3 separate regions of the Homo sapiens genome follow, and regions 2 and 3 are each linked to region 1. The links are contacts of gene promoters, found by promoter capture Hi-C in blood cells and fetal thymus (Javierre and others, 2016). All regions are on one chromosome and are shown on one strand. The core of a region is centred on a gene start or on the middle of the fragment in contact, and the rest is flanking DNA. Distances in the headings are between cores, read along the strand shown.

Region 1 (4,005 bases), core at 780-3,279:
GATCTTCATAACCCAAACCCAGGATTGCCCTTAACAGCCTTAGCTGACAAAGCTCATTAGAAATCAAACTCTTCCTTTAACAAAACAAGACATTTTAAACCAACCAACCACTCAATGTCAGCACCCCGACCTTCTGCCTAGCCATTGTTTCTACATCCTCAGCAGAATCCTCTTTTCTTTTAGTGTGCTCTGAGAGAGTCAAAGGACGTTTTTGAAGTTCCCTTTAGTCCTTTCCCATCCTGAGCCCCAATCCCAATGTCCTCAAATCTTACTACTTGATTTGCCTAGTGGTCTCTCCACCTATGAATGGCTAGGGAAAATGATGCCTCTTCTTTTGCCCCCCGACCCCACCTACTCTCAAGGCTCATACTTCCTACAGTATATCTCTCACCATATTTCCCCACCACCAATATTCAGACTCATCAAGAGTGCAAAAACGAAATAATCTGCAGTCTTAAAGTCTCTGCTTCTCCTTTGTTCTACACTGTTTTAAAAAGTCTAGTCCCCAAAGCTTCTCTGCTCCTCTGTCTCCATTCTTTGCTTCTTTAGGACTCCCTGGGCTCTTGGCACATTCTCCAAGTCCACATTTCCACCTCAGATTTGGAGCTTTTCTTTCTACACCTAAAGACAGATCTCTAACTTATTCTTCATTCAGGATCTGAACTTACCTTCTCCCTAAAACCGTTTTTCCCTCTTTGACTTCCAAGGCCTACACCCTTTTTTCTTCCTAAGGACTTCCTTTCTCCTTCCTGTCAATGTGGCCCCTTGGTAGTGCAAGGAGATGCCTTCTTCCCATTCCACCTTTCACCACTACTCACTTGGCAAAGCGAGAGCGATTTCCAACCACACCGAATTCCTCTTCCTCTTCGGAGCTGGACTCAGAGTCTGAGTCGGGAGGCTCAGTGCGAAGCAGGCGGTGACTGCTTGGGCCTTTCTTGGGCTTCTTTCTCCGGCTGTCCCCAGCCAAACCAATCAATGCATTGAGCTCTTTGCGCTTTTTCATCTTTTTGTGTGGGGTGAGTGGAGCCCCGACTCCTGAGCTGCCAGGTTCGTACCCGATGCCCAATTCTCTTCCTGCCTTGGAGCTGCCTTCCAGGGTTGGGAATCCTGGGCCAGAGCCCCCTGGTCACTCCCACCTAGGGGTGGGACTGACCAGATCCGCCAGGGACTGGAGATTGGAGCCCAGAGGAAACTGGAACTCAGATGGGTGGGGGAAATCACATAGAAATGGCCAAGGAGCTGGTGACCCCAAAGGATAAGGCCTTGGGTGCAGAGTGTTAGTAGAGGGTGGAGAGGGACCTTTATCTCCCAAAGGGCGAAAAAAAAGCCAGGTCAAAAATGAAGGATTCTCAGCCCGGATAAGTAGGCAATACTTCTAAGGGTGCTCCAGGAGGTGAGGAAGGGCACGCTTAAAATACGTGTTTCGGACCTCCGGAGCAAGATTTCCAATGGAGAGGGAAGAGAAACTCGTTCTTGAATGGGAAGAGAGTGGGGAGGTGCAGAGTAAGAAAGTGGGAACGCGTCAGTCCCTTCCTTGCAGGAGAGGTGGCGGCAGGAGGGGGCTCCCAGCAGCTACAATCCCAACACTGCTTGGCCGCAGAGAAAATGCCCTGGCCAGGAAGCCGGCTGGGGTGTGTGATGATCACCGTTCTCCGGCCTCCGTCCTGAACGTGAAGGGGGCCCGAGGCCGAGGAAGATCCGGAGCCCGGCTAGAAGGGTCGGCCTGAGAGAAGCCAGTCCCGCGCCTGATAGACCCCCGCCCCGCTGTCTGGGCCTTGGGGACACGGTGCCGCGGGCGACGGCGGCTCGGCCGACCGAAAGCGCTCCCGCCCGGAGTTTGAGGTCTCCGGCACGGGCAACTCTCGGCCACTCACACGCGCAGGCCCCACTCCAGCCGCGACTCCGGCCCCTGCTCCGGCTTCGGCCGCGGCTGCTCCCGACACGTTGTTGTTGGCGTTGGTGGCGGCGGCTGCGGCGGCGGCGGCCGCGAGCTCCAGCCCCGGGCCATCGCTCCAGCCCCAGATCACTTCCCCTTTGGCAGCGGCCGCCTGCGCCGCCTGCCAGTAAGCCGCACTCCCATTGGTCGCCCGCTGGGGTGACGTCACGCCGGGGCGAAAGTCGTGGCGGAGAGGTGGGGCGTTAAAGGGGCCCTGCCCCGGCTGGGGCTGGGTCCCACCTGCCGATTAGGGTGGCCCCGCCCCCAGGAGGGCTTCCGGGACCTGCTGCGAACCTGAGCCGGGTGGAGTCCTGCATCCTGCGGAGCGCGGGCGGGGCAGGCAAAGCGCCCGGCTGCTCGACCTACTTCGAAAGTTCATCAGCCGCCCACGCCCCCTGGACTAACCAAGTCTGAAGGCTCCGCCTCTCTGACTCTCACACAGGCTGTTAAAAGTTTAGGCGCGTTTCAGATTAATTAACACATTCATTCAGTCAATAAATATTTATTGAGAGCTTACTTACTACGTGTCAGGAGCTGTTCTAGCGCTGGGGATACAGCCATGAACAAAATAACCAGGGTCCTTGTCTTCCTGTATAGTGTTGCCAGATTTAGCAAATAAAAATGTAGGACACCCAGTAAAGTTTGAATTTCAGAGAAACAGCAAACAATTTTTTAGCATTAAGACATCCCATGCAACATCTGGGACATCCTCACACTAAAAAATTATTCATTGTGTATGTGAAATGCAAGTTTAACTGAGCATCGTGTATCTTATCTGCCAATCTATTCCTGCAGTTTATTTATACTCTAGAGGGAGGAGAGCAACAATAGGCAAACATATTAAATGTCAGGAGGTGATAAGTGTTATGATGAAAATTGAAACACGGTCAGGTGATGGGGAGTGCCTCTGTGAAAAGGGAACATTTAGTCAGCTTATCGGAGGAGAGGTGAGGGAATGAGCTGTGCAGTGGCTGCAGGAAGGAGTGACCAGGAAGACCTGTTGTGGCTGGACCAGAAGAGCAAGGAGCAGAGTGATAGGAAATGAGGTCAGAGAAGCATCAGAGGCCAGGGCTTTAGGGCCTTATGGATCACTGAAAGGACTTTGGGAAAGCACTGGGGGCTTTAAGCTGAGAGGTAGCATACTCTGGCTTTTCCGTAAAAAAAAAAAAAAAAAAAAAAATTCACTCTGGGCCAGCGCGATGGCTCACGCCTGTAATCCCAGCATTTTGGGAGGCTGAGGTGGGCGGATCACAAGGTCAGGAGATGGAGACCATCCTGGCCAATATGGTGAAACCTTGTCTCTATTAAAAATACAAAAATTACCTGGGCGTGGTGGTGCGCGCTTGTAATCCCAGCTACTTGGGAGGCTGAGGCAAGAGAATGGCTTGAAACCGGGAGGCGGAGGTTGCAACAAGCCGAGATTGCACCACTGCACTTCAGTCTGGCAACAGAGCGAGACTCCGTCTCAAAAATAAATAAATAAATAAATAAATAAATAAATAAATAAATAAATAAATAAATAAAATAAAATAAAATAAAGGAAAAAATTACTCTGGCTACTTTGTAGAAAAAAGTGGGGGGAGAGTGAGGAACACAGGAGAGCAGTTTGTTACAGTCCAGCTAGAGATGATGCTGATAGATTAGAGAGGCAGTAGCAGAGATGGAGAGCATTCTGGATGTTTCTTGAAGACAGAGCTGACAATTTTTGCTGATAGATTAGATGAAAGGTGTGAAGAGAAGAGAGGGTTTGGCGGTGGAAACACTGGAAGCAAGGAATTGTTATTTATTGAGATGGGGTAGAGCAAGTTTGGGACAAGTTTGACAAGCCAATTCAATATTCAAATGGAGGCTGTTTGGTATACCCATTGAGAGTTCTCTGGGCACAGGTTGGGGCCTGAAATATCAATTGGGAAGTCATCAGATATAAATGGAATTTAAAGCAAAGTGCTTTGAGCTACTTGGAAGAAAGTCACTTAAAGTAATTTTTATGCCCATATTCTTACTGTGGCAATTACGCTGCTTTTGTCCAAGGATTCTCGCAAAGCCTGGGCCTGTATCTGATTTGTTTT
Region 2 (4,005 bases), core at 479-2,978, 220 kb before region 1:
CCCGTAGGACAACAGTCCCAAGTGTCACAGCCCCACCTTGCGCAGAAGCCCCAGGCAGCCCTAGGGAGGGTGCGTCTACATTTTTGCTTGGCCTCTGCGCTCCCTATTCCCGCCACTCTCTCCAGGCCTCGAAGTTACTCCTCCTCCTCCGGCCAGTCCCAGTTCCTCAAGGAGCCAGTCTTCACCTCCCCCACCCCTGCCTTCCCATTTCGCCCCCCACCCCACCCCTTTCTCACAGTCCCGCTCGGCCGCCCCGCAGTGCCCATGTAAATGACAGCAATAAATATCTAATCAAGGCCCCGGGCGACGCCACTGCTGCCCGCCAAAGCCCATTACCGAACGAGTAGGGAGGGGCGCTGGGGTGGGTTGGTGAGCTTTCGGCAGGGTGTGTGTTCTGGTCTCCACATTCATCCTGCACTGAGTGCCTCTCCTGTCTGACCTTGAGCGAGTCTCAGTTTCCCTTTCTGTAAGAAGGGCACCGAGCTGGGCTCTCCAATGTCCAGCCCTCCCGCCGTTCAGTGGCCTCTCTTTCTATTTAGTCACCTGTCCGTTCTTCCAAGCTTATTTGACTCTGCCCCAGTGTTGCCTGATGGGTGGACATCCCAGATTGGACAGACCACAGATCCCAGCTCTGGTGGCTCTGGCCCCAACTGTTCTTCGGACTTTAGCCAGGTTTTTGCTGGCAAAGGGGAGTTCCCTGGATATGACAGCGGCAGGAGGGAGCACATTTCCCAGATGGGGTCACTCCTTCCCTCTGGTCTACAGCCACTGTGGGCGCTGCTTCCATGAGCCCCGAGGCCACTGGAGCCCACTGGGTTTCCCGGCCTGTTCCAGCCTCCACAGCTCTATCTCCAGGGTTGCTTGTGCCCCGGATGAGTTGTACATCTGTCAGTGTGCAGAGCAGGAGCCGCAACCGCGCTTTCTGCGCCCGCAGGACAGACCCTCCTCCGAGTTCCTCCAGCCGTTTGGAGGCCCTAACTTGGGCCTAGAGCAGCTCTGCTCCTCAGGGTACTCTGTAGTCCCTGTTTCCCAGCCCCGGCCTGGATCTGGATGGCCAAAAGTGGACCAGGTCATCCCTGACAGACTTTGGGCCAAGGCTAACTGAGCAGGCAGGGCCACCACTTCTGTACCCTGGAGAGGCCAGGAACATCCTGGGGTCTTAACCTATGCCCTGCTCCATCTCGGCTCCGCCCAAGTCTCCTCGATCTCCAGTGTGCTAGCTGTATCTCTGCCAGAAAGGAAGCAGAGAATCAAGCAATTACCCAGACAATTCTACTCTCAAGACTTGCAGTCAGGTCCCTTGGCCTACCCCGCCACCTACCTGCTCTCAAAAGCTGATGGATGCTGGGCCAGATTCGAGAAAAAGCAACAAAAAAGTGGCCTCTCCCATCTTCTTTCCCTTTCCTGGCTGCATTTTGCTGCCTTAAAAGAACAAAAAATTAACTCCAGCCGCCTGATTTCTCTGCACCCCCAACATTAAGGACCTCGGAAAACTGGAGGACTGTAGGCGGAGGGGCCTCCCTCAGTCTCGGCCCATTAGCCTGCGGGGGGCTAATTACCCCAATTAGTGGCTGATTTATAATTAATGGCTCGGACCAAGGGATAATTGGATGTTAATGGATAACAGTTTGTATAGGGAACTAAGAGCCCCGACTCCTTCAAAGGGCCACTGGCCGGTGGTTGGCCCTGAGACCCACCGGGACCCTGGAACTCTCCCAGTGGGTTCTTCTCCTATCCACTGGGCCCCCATCCCTGAGCCAAGAGGGGAGGTGAGAATCTCCTTTGAGGAATTTATGAGCTCTGTGTGCCCGTTATGAAGTCCAGCACCTCTTCCAATCTGACCCTTGCAAAGCCACATACTTCCAAGCCCACCTGCCTGCCATGCATAGCTCCAACTCCAGGTTCACTTTGGGGGCCCTCAGTGGAGATGAAAGGAGGATGAGCAGATTATTTGACCCCCCACAGCTCATCCCCTTCCCATATGGATCAGGCAATGCAGGGTTAACGGTGGCGATGTGGGGGTCATGATACCTATGCCACTGGCTGGGGGAGGGAACATGGCCAAGGTGAGGGCAGTGACCAGGGCTCATGTAGGATGAGGTTAGAGCTTAGTCTGTGACAAGGTCAGGGTCACAGCTGTGGCCAGAAGGTGGCTTGGCTTCTGGTGAGGACATTGGATTTTCCCTGCTGGGGCAGGGCAGAGCAGGCAGGGTGAAGAGGAAACTTTGGACATTGGCCCACTCTCATCTCCCAGAGCTGGTTTCCTCTGCCCTAGGGCATGTGACCATCTGCAATTCCCCTAGAATCTGAGCCCTTCAAGCTGGAATTCATGACACTACCCCCAAAGTCCATCGCTCAACAGGCAGTGGCTCCATCTTTATTTGTGGAATGAATGTCTGATGTCCCTTGCTCTGGGCACTGGGTCCTGAGTACTAGCTGGGGAAGCAGACCCCGCCCTGGATCAAGGTTAAGAGCTCTGGTGGGCACTGATTTCACAATTTGGAGTTAGACTCCCTCGATTCCATCCCGGCTAAGCTGCTTAGCTGTGTAGCTTTGGACAAGTGATTTTACTTCTCTGGGTCTCAGCTTCCTTATCAGTCAAATGGGGATTATGAGGTTGTGAAGATTAAATGAGATGCTGCCAGTCAGGTCTCTATGAGGATAGCTGGTAATAATAGTTATTTATTATAAAACTCTGGCAAAAGGTAGGCAAATTGGCAACTACAATTTGGTAAGGATAGGAATTTAAAGAAGTCACCGGACCCAACTGGTGACTTCTGGACCGAACCACTGCTAAAATTGGATGATTTTAGAAAATTATCCAATCTTTCTCACCTTCCATTTCTGAATCTGTAAGATGGGGATGGCAGGAGAGGCTTCCTGGAGAAAGGCGTGTGCAAGCTTAATGCAAGTCAGGAGTTCTCCAGGTCATGCTGGTGGAGGGACAACATTCCCGGAGTGGGAGGCAGCCACATAGTAGCTTTGGAGAGCCATGGCTCAGTGGTGGGTGGGAGTGTACAGGAGGGAAGGAAGGGGAGATGACAGATTTGGATATGGCTCTTAAGAAATATGGCTTTGAAGGTATCAGAGAGAACTGGTCTGAGAGATGGGTTCATTTGTTTCAAATGAGGCCTGGCCCACCCCACCCTCTGGTGGAGAGCCCTTGTTGGGAAGAATCTGGCCCCTGGCAGGGGGAGGAAGAGGCTGATCCCTGGGCTTTCTGCACCTTTGAGTGCCTGATACTGACAGGAGATTTGGGGAGCATGGAGGGTTCAGCGTAACCCAGGAATGGATATGGGGCTCTTGGAGGAGCCCCTGTAAAATAAGCGGCATCTGAGAGGTAGTAGCTGGGGATGTCATCATGTCAAGCTTGCTCTCAAACTGTGTGCCTGCAGGGTCCTTGGTCAGGGTAGGATCGGGATCTCCACAGCCCTCACATCCTATCCTCCCACTGCAGATTCCTGGCAACTCAGAACTAAGAACAGATGTGGGAACAGGGTACTTACTGGGATGGGGGCTTAGCCTTCCCCATTCCCAAGCAGGCCAGCCAAAGGGACTCACCTTCCTTGAGCCTCAACTCCTCATCTGCAATGTGGAGAGCGCCTCCCTCATAGACTTGGGGTAAGAAATTAATGAGGTGCTGAAGTTGAGGATCTGGCATGTGCCAGGGACAAAGCTTCTTTTAAAATCTTGGACCCAAAAGCTCAGAGTTGGAAGGCTTCTAGGTCATCTTGTTCAGCCAGCCCCACAACACCCACTCACTCATGCACACACACATGCATACACATGAACGAATCCCTCCTTTTCGGCCTCCTTCACACGTGGCTGGCCAGCCCTGGGTTACACACTTCTCATGACAAGGTCTCTTTCCCTCCTGGTTAGTGTCATATCAGAAGAGGTCAGAGATGGTAGGACGCTAGCCAAGGTCACAAAGCAGCCTGGAGTTGGGGCAGGAGCCCTGGCTTGCTGCTCCCGGGTTCGTGTATTCATGATCTTCTACCTGCA
Region 3 (4,005 bases), core at 868-3,367, 140 kb before region 1:
TTTACTGAGTAGTTACTAGTGCCATGTGCTATGGAATACTCTTGAAATAAACTGTCTTATTCTCACCACAATTGGACAAAATGGGTAGTACACTTATTCTCGTTTTACAGAGGGAGATCCTGAAGCCAAAAAGAAAAATGGTTGAGCAACTTGCCCAAGATTACGCACCAGTAAGGGGTGAGGCCAGGACTTAGGCCCAGGGCGTCAGTCAGGCCTCCGAGTCTGTGCAGACATCCCCCAGCAGGACTTGTGGTCTGACTGCTGCAGGGATGGACTCTCTTGAGCCAACCACACTGGGTCTGGCCTCAATAAGCTACATTAAGTTTACTGATATGGCGACAGAGGATCCCATCTGCATGTAGCATTTCAAACATGTAATTAACAGTCAGTCATGTGTTATTGGGTGGTGCAGGGGCAGACACAGGCAGGAACATGTGGCTTGGCTTCATGTGGTTTATGTTTACTACTAGAAGCCAGCATTTCTGGGCTGAAGGTATTATCTCTCTGTCCTAAAAATGGCACATGTCTACTGTTTTTTAGGGGGGATGGGGAGGGCATGAGAGAAGGGGAAGAACTGCCAAAGATTGTTCGCTTGCCAGATTAAACAACGGATCCCAATGTGCTAGGGAACATTCCCAGAAAACCGGCTCATGACTAGGTCCTAGCTTGCTCTGCTGTAGTGAGCCTCGTTTCCAAATCTGTTAAAAGGAAAAGCAGAGAATAATGCTTTACATACTTTTTTTTTTTTTTTTTTGAGACAGAGTCTCACTCTGTTGCCCAGGCTGGAGTGTAGTGGTGCGATCTCGGCTCACTGCAACCTCTGCCTCCCAGGTTCAAGCGATTCTTCTGCCTCAGCCTCCTGAGTAGCTGGGATTACAGGCATGTGCCAGCACACCCAGCTAATTTTTGTATTTTTAGTAGAGCCGGGTTTCACCATGTTGGCCAGGCTGGTCTTGAACTCCTGACCTCAAGTGATCTGCCCACCTTGGCATCCCAAAGTGCTGGGATTATAGGCGTGAGCCACTGTACCTGGTCTACTCTACATACTTCTAAGACATCCCCCAGCATACCAAATTGTTTTAATAATATTAGCAGCCAACATTTATTGGGCCCTTAGTGCCTACCAGACACTGTCCTAAGCATTTCACATGAATTATCTCATTTAATCTTCACAGCAACCCAGTGAGGTAGGTGCTATCAATATCTCTATTTTATAGAAGGGAATATTGTTTAGAAAAGGTTAAGTGACTTGCCCAAGATCACATGGCTAGTAAGTGATGCAGCTAGACATAACATAAGCTTTAGCTGTGTTGGTTTCTAAAGCACGCTCCCTCAACCACCAAGCCCCTCCGTGTGGCCCTCCATGCAGTTCCAGACATCCCTGCAAGTGTGTCCTAAGATTGGGGGAGTGATGGGAAGGGAAAGGGTTTCTCTACCCCACCTCATTATGTCAGAAAAGCAACTTAAGTATACACCCCAGTGATTATGTGTGTGGGTGATGGCATCTTTCCATCTGAAGGATGGCACATTCTCAGGCTTCCCCTTTATCCTGGGTCTGTGTCCCAAACAATAGGACCCTCCTCTCCTCTGTTTTAGCCTTTCTAGACTTCGCAATGTATTTGAGAGCTTCCACCCCATAATTAATGTAGTTAAACAGTGAACATGTCAAAACGGGATTGATAAATCGATGACTAAATGTATCTATATATGACTCCTATTATAATGAAAAGGCATTTATAAAATACCCACACAGGTGACATTCTAAGCTCTGCAAAATGCTAATTATCATCCTTCCCTCCGGCCTCCCTTCTCCCAAATCAAGGGCAGTTTTTAAGTCCTTCATCCTTTTTATTAGCTTGACTCGTTTTGGAAGTCTCTGGGATTCATGATGGATGATCACCACCCTGGGTCTTAATCAGAAGTCCACACACATACTCAACGGTAAGTACCTCCTTGCAATTTCTCAAAGACCAAGTAAAACCTTGTGTCATCTTCAAAGAACTCAATCAGCTCCAAAATGTTCCTTAAATAGGGAAAATAGGAGGAGAGGGAAAAGGGGGGAAATGGTATTATATATTAAAGTCTACTTACAAATATACAATGAAAAAAATATACAACACCTGGTAGTGGGGCAGAAACCAACTTGAAATCAGAATGCTTATTAAAGACCCGCGTATGGAAGCAGCCAATGGTGTTAGCAAGATTCAGGTCACCTTATCTTTCCATAATGTTTAGTCTCTGGTGTTTTCACCAAGTCTGTGCTGTCAAACCCCAGCCCTAAAACCCACTAGGTAGAGTTATAAAAAAGTCCCGGTCACATTAAACTGAATAAAATCTGCAGCCGACTGGAAGCAATTGCGGCTAATAACACTGAATACTAGGTGTGTGTCCTGGAGGCAAGCAGCAAATAATTACTTGCCCTCCCTCTTGCCCATAAATCACGGGGCAGTATTTACATTGCCTGGAGAAAATGGAAACATCTGTCAAATGGACTTGGGGCCTAACATGGGCACCGCTAGACCCTAACTGCTAAGCGCTGCTTAATGAAACGGCCGCGTTCCTGGCCACTGTAGCACTTGTGGCCTTCCCCGGTGAGCACTCTCTGTCTGCCCGAGTATTTCAGTGCTCTGCCAACAAGGTCGTCTTGTAACTCAGTAGGGAAGCCACCAGCCTGGATATTGGAGGTGTTGTGGGCTTTTTTTCTTTTACAAAATAAAATAAACCAAGTAGAGTCTCTAATGCTGAACTAAGAAGCTGCAGGGCTGAAAATAAAAATCTGTCCCTCATAAAAAAAATGCTGACTACTTTGGGAGATATGAGGCTTTTACTAGTGTGAAGGCATCCAAATAAGATGGGCAAAATGGCCTAATTTGAAAGAAGATTGTGGAGGCAGTGCCTGGAGTTAAATCAACAGCAGCCCCCGTCCTCCAATCCTCCAAGCTTAATGACAAAGCCATCAATACCAGGCCACTGGCTCCCTGCTGACCCTACCGTGGAGGGAGAGAGGGGGAAGTGGAGTCTTAGAGGTGCCCCTGATTTAAAGCCACAGTGGGAGAGCTGCTCATTTGGAGCTGGTGGTGGGCAGAATGAACTGGGGCTAGAGATGAGCCGGACCCAGCTATCTGGAAGGTTCCAGGATCTTAGTGGTATCTGCACATATGTAAACATTCTAGGAGCAGAAACAGCAGCAAATATTCTTAACAGTTCTCCTCATCTTGGTATTAAGGCAAGTCCTTAAAGATTTCTACCAGGCAACACTCAGTCAACCTAGTTTCCACAGGTACCGAAAGAAATAAAACCCCATTTCCCCCCAACAACCACTGATTCAGATAGTTCATTCTTCTAACTTGCTTGAATTGATGATATTTACAGTATTTCAGAAGAGATAATAGCTCCTTTGCTGTTACTGCTGCTTTTCCTTTCTCTCCCTAACACTGAAAGGGGCGGAAGGAGGTACCTGCCTTGTGGGGACAGGAGTGAGAGCTAAATGCTGGAGTCAGGAGATGGTAAGAAATAGCCTCCTCTTCTGTGGCCAAGCGTCCCCCCAGAGAAGCAGCGAGAATCACATGATACTCACTTGTTTCCCTGACACTGATACAGCGTCTCCACCTCTCGAAACACCCTACTCCGACTGTGCCCTGCTTGTTTCTCGATGATCTGTGGGAAGAATAAAATCTGTCATGTACACCCACCTGACTTCCAAACAGCCCTTTGGCAGGAGTCCTCTGGGAGAATGCAAGGCCACACTCAGTCCAAATCCAGTGTCCAGCAGAAGTCTGGCCTAGGCCTTGGTGACACCGGCACTGTGGCTCTGTTGGCAAAGCAGCAGACTGGCCTCAGGGCTTTCCAGCTCAGCTGAGCCCATTCCACTCTGGCCAAGCACAACACCAAGGAAGTGAATGAGGCTGCTGCCCCCAGCTGCCCAGGGGAGACTGAGGCAGCCGGCAAGACAAAGAGCTACCTTACTCAGCTCCACCTCCTGTGGACACCTCTTTCTGCCTTAAG

The links. Contacts are between HindIII fragments. The CHiCAGO score rates a contact against its expected background, and 5 or more counts as called.
Region 2: a contact is called between a fragment that was not itself captured here and the fragment with the promoter of EFCAB14 in region 1, in 2 of 17 cell types (neutrophils and erythroblasts). The highest score is 7.1, in neutrophils.
Region 3: a contact is called between a fragment that was not itself captured here and the fragment with the promoter of EFCAB14 in region 1, in 8 of 17 cell types (monocytes, M0 macrophages, M1 macrophages and 5 more). The highest score is 7.1, in monocytes.

The regions. Positions count from the first base shown.
Region 1 is chr1:46,717,085-46,721,089 of GRCh38, forward strand. It overlaps EFCAB14 (EF-hand calcium binding domain 14), which reads right to left and starts at 2,030. Exons shown (of 11, transcript NM_014774.3): 1 at 819-2,030. The coding sequence starts at 1,003. RefSeq lists silencers at 1,835-1,884, 2,205-2,254. The HindIII fragment of the contact is 11,051 bases long and covers 510-4,005 here.
Region 2 is chr1:46,492,884-46,496,888 of GRCh38, forward strand. All of the region lies in intron 2 of DMBX1 (diencephalon/mesencephalon homeobox 1), which reads left to right. Among named protein-coding and RNA genes, the nearest start is that of DMBX1, 5.0 kb to the left of the region's middle. RefSeq lists an enhancer at 1-79. The HindIII fragment of the contact is 2,341 bases long and covers 559-2,899 here.
Region 3 is chr1:46,572,998-46,577,002 of GRCh38, forward strand. MKNK1 (MAPK interacting serine/threonine kinase 1) reads right to left here. Exons shown (of 13, transcript NM_001135553.4): 5 at 3,578-3,657; 6 at 1,950-2,023. Among named protein-coding and RNA genes, the nearest start is that of KNCN, 23 kb to the left of the region's middle. The HindIII fragment of the contact is 1,641 bases long and covers 1,298-2,938 here.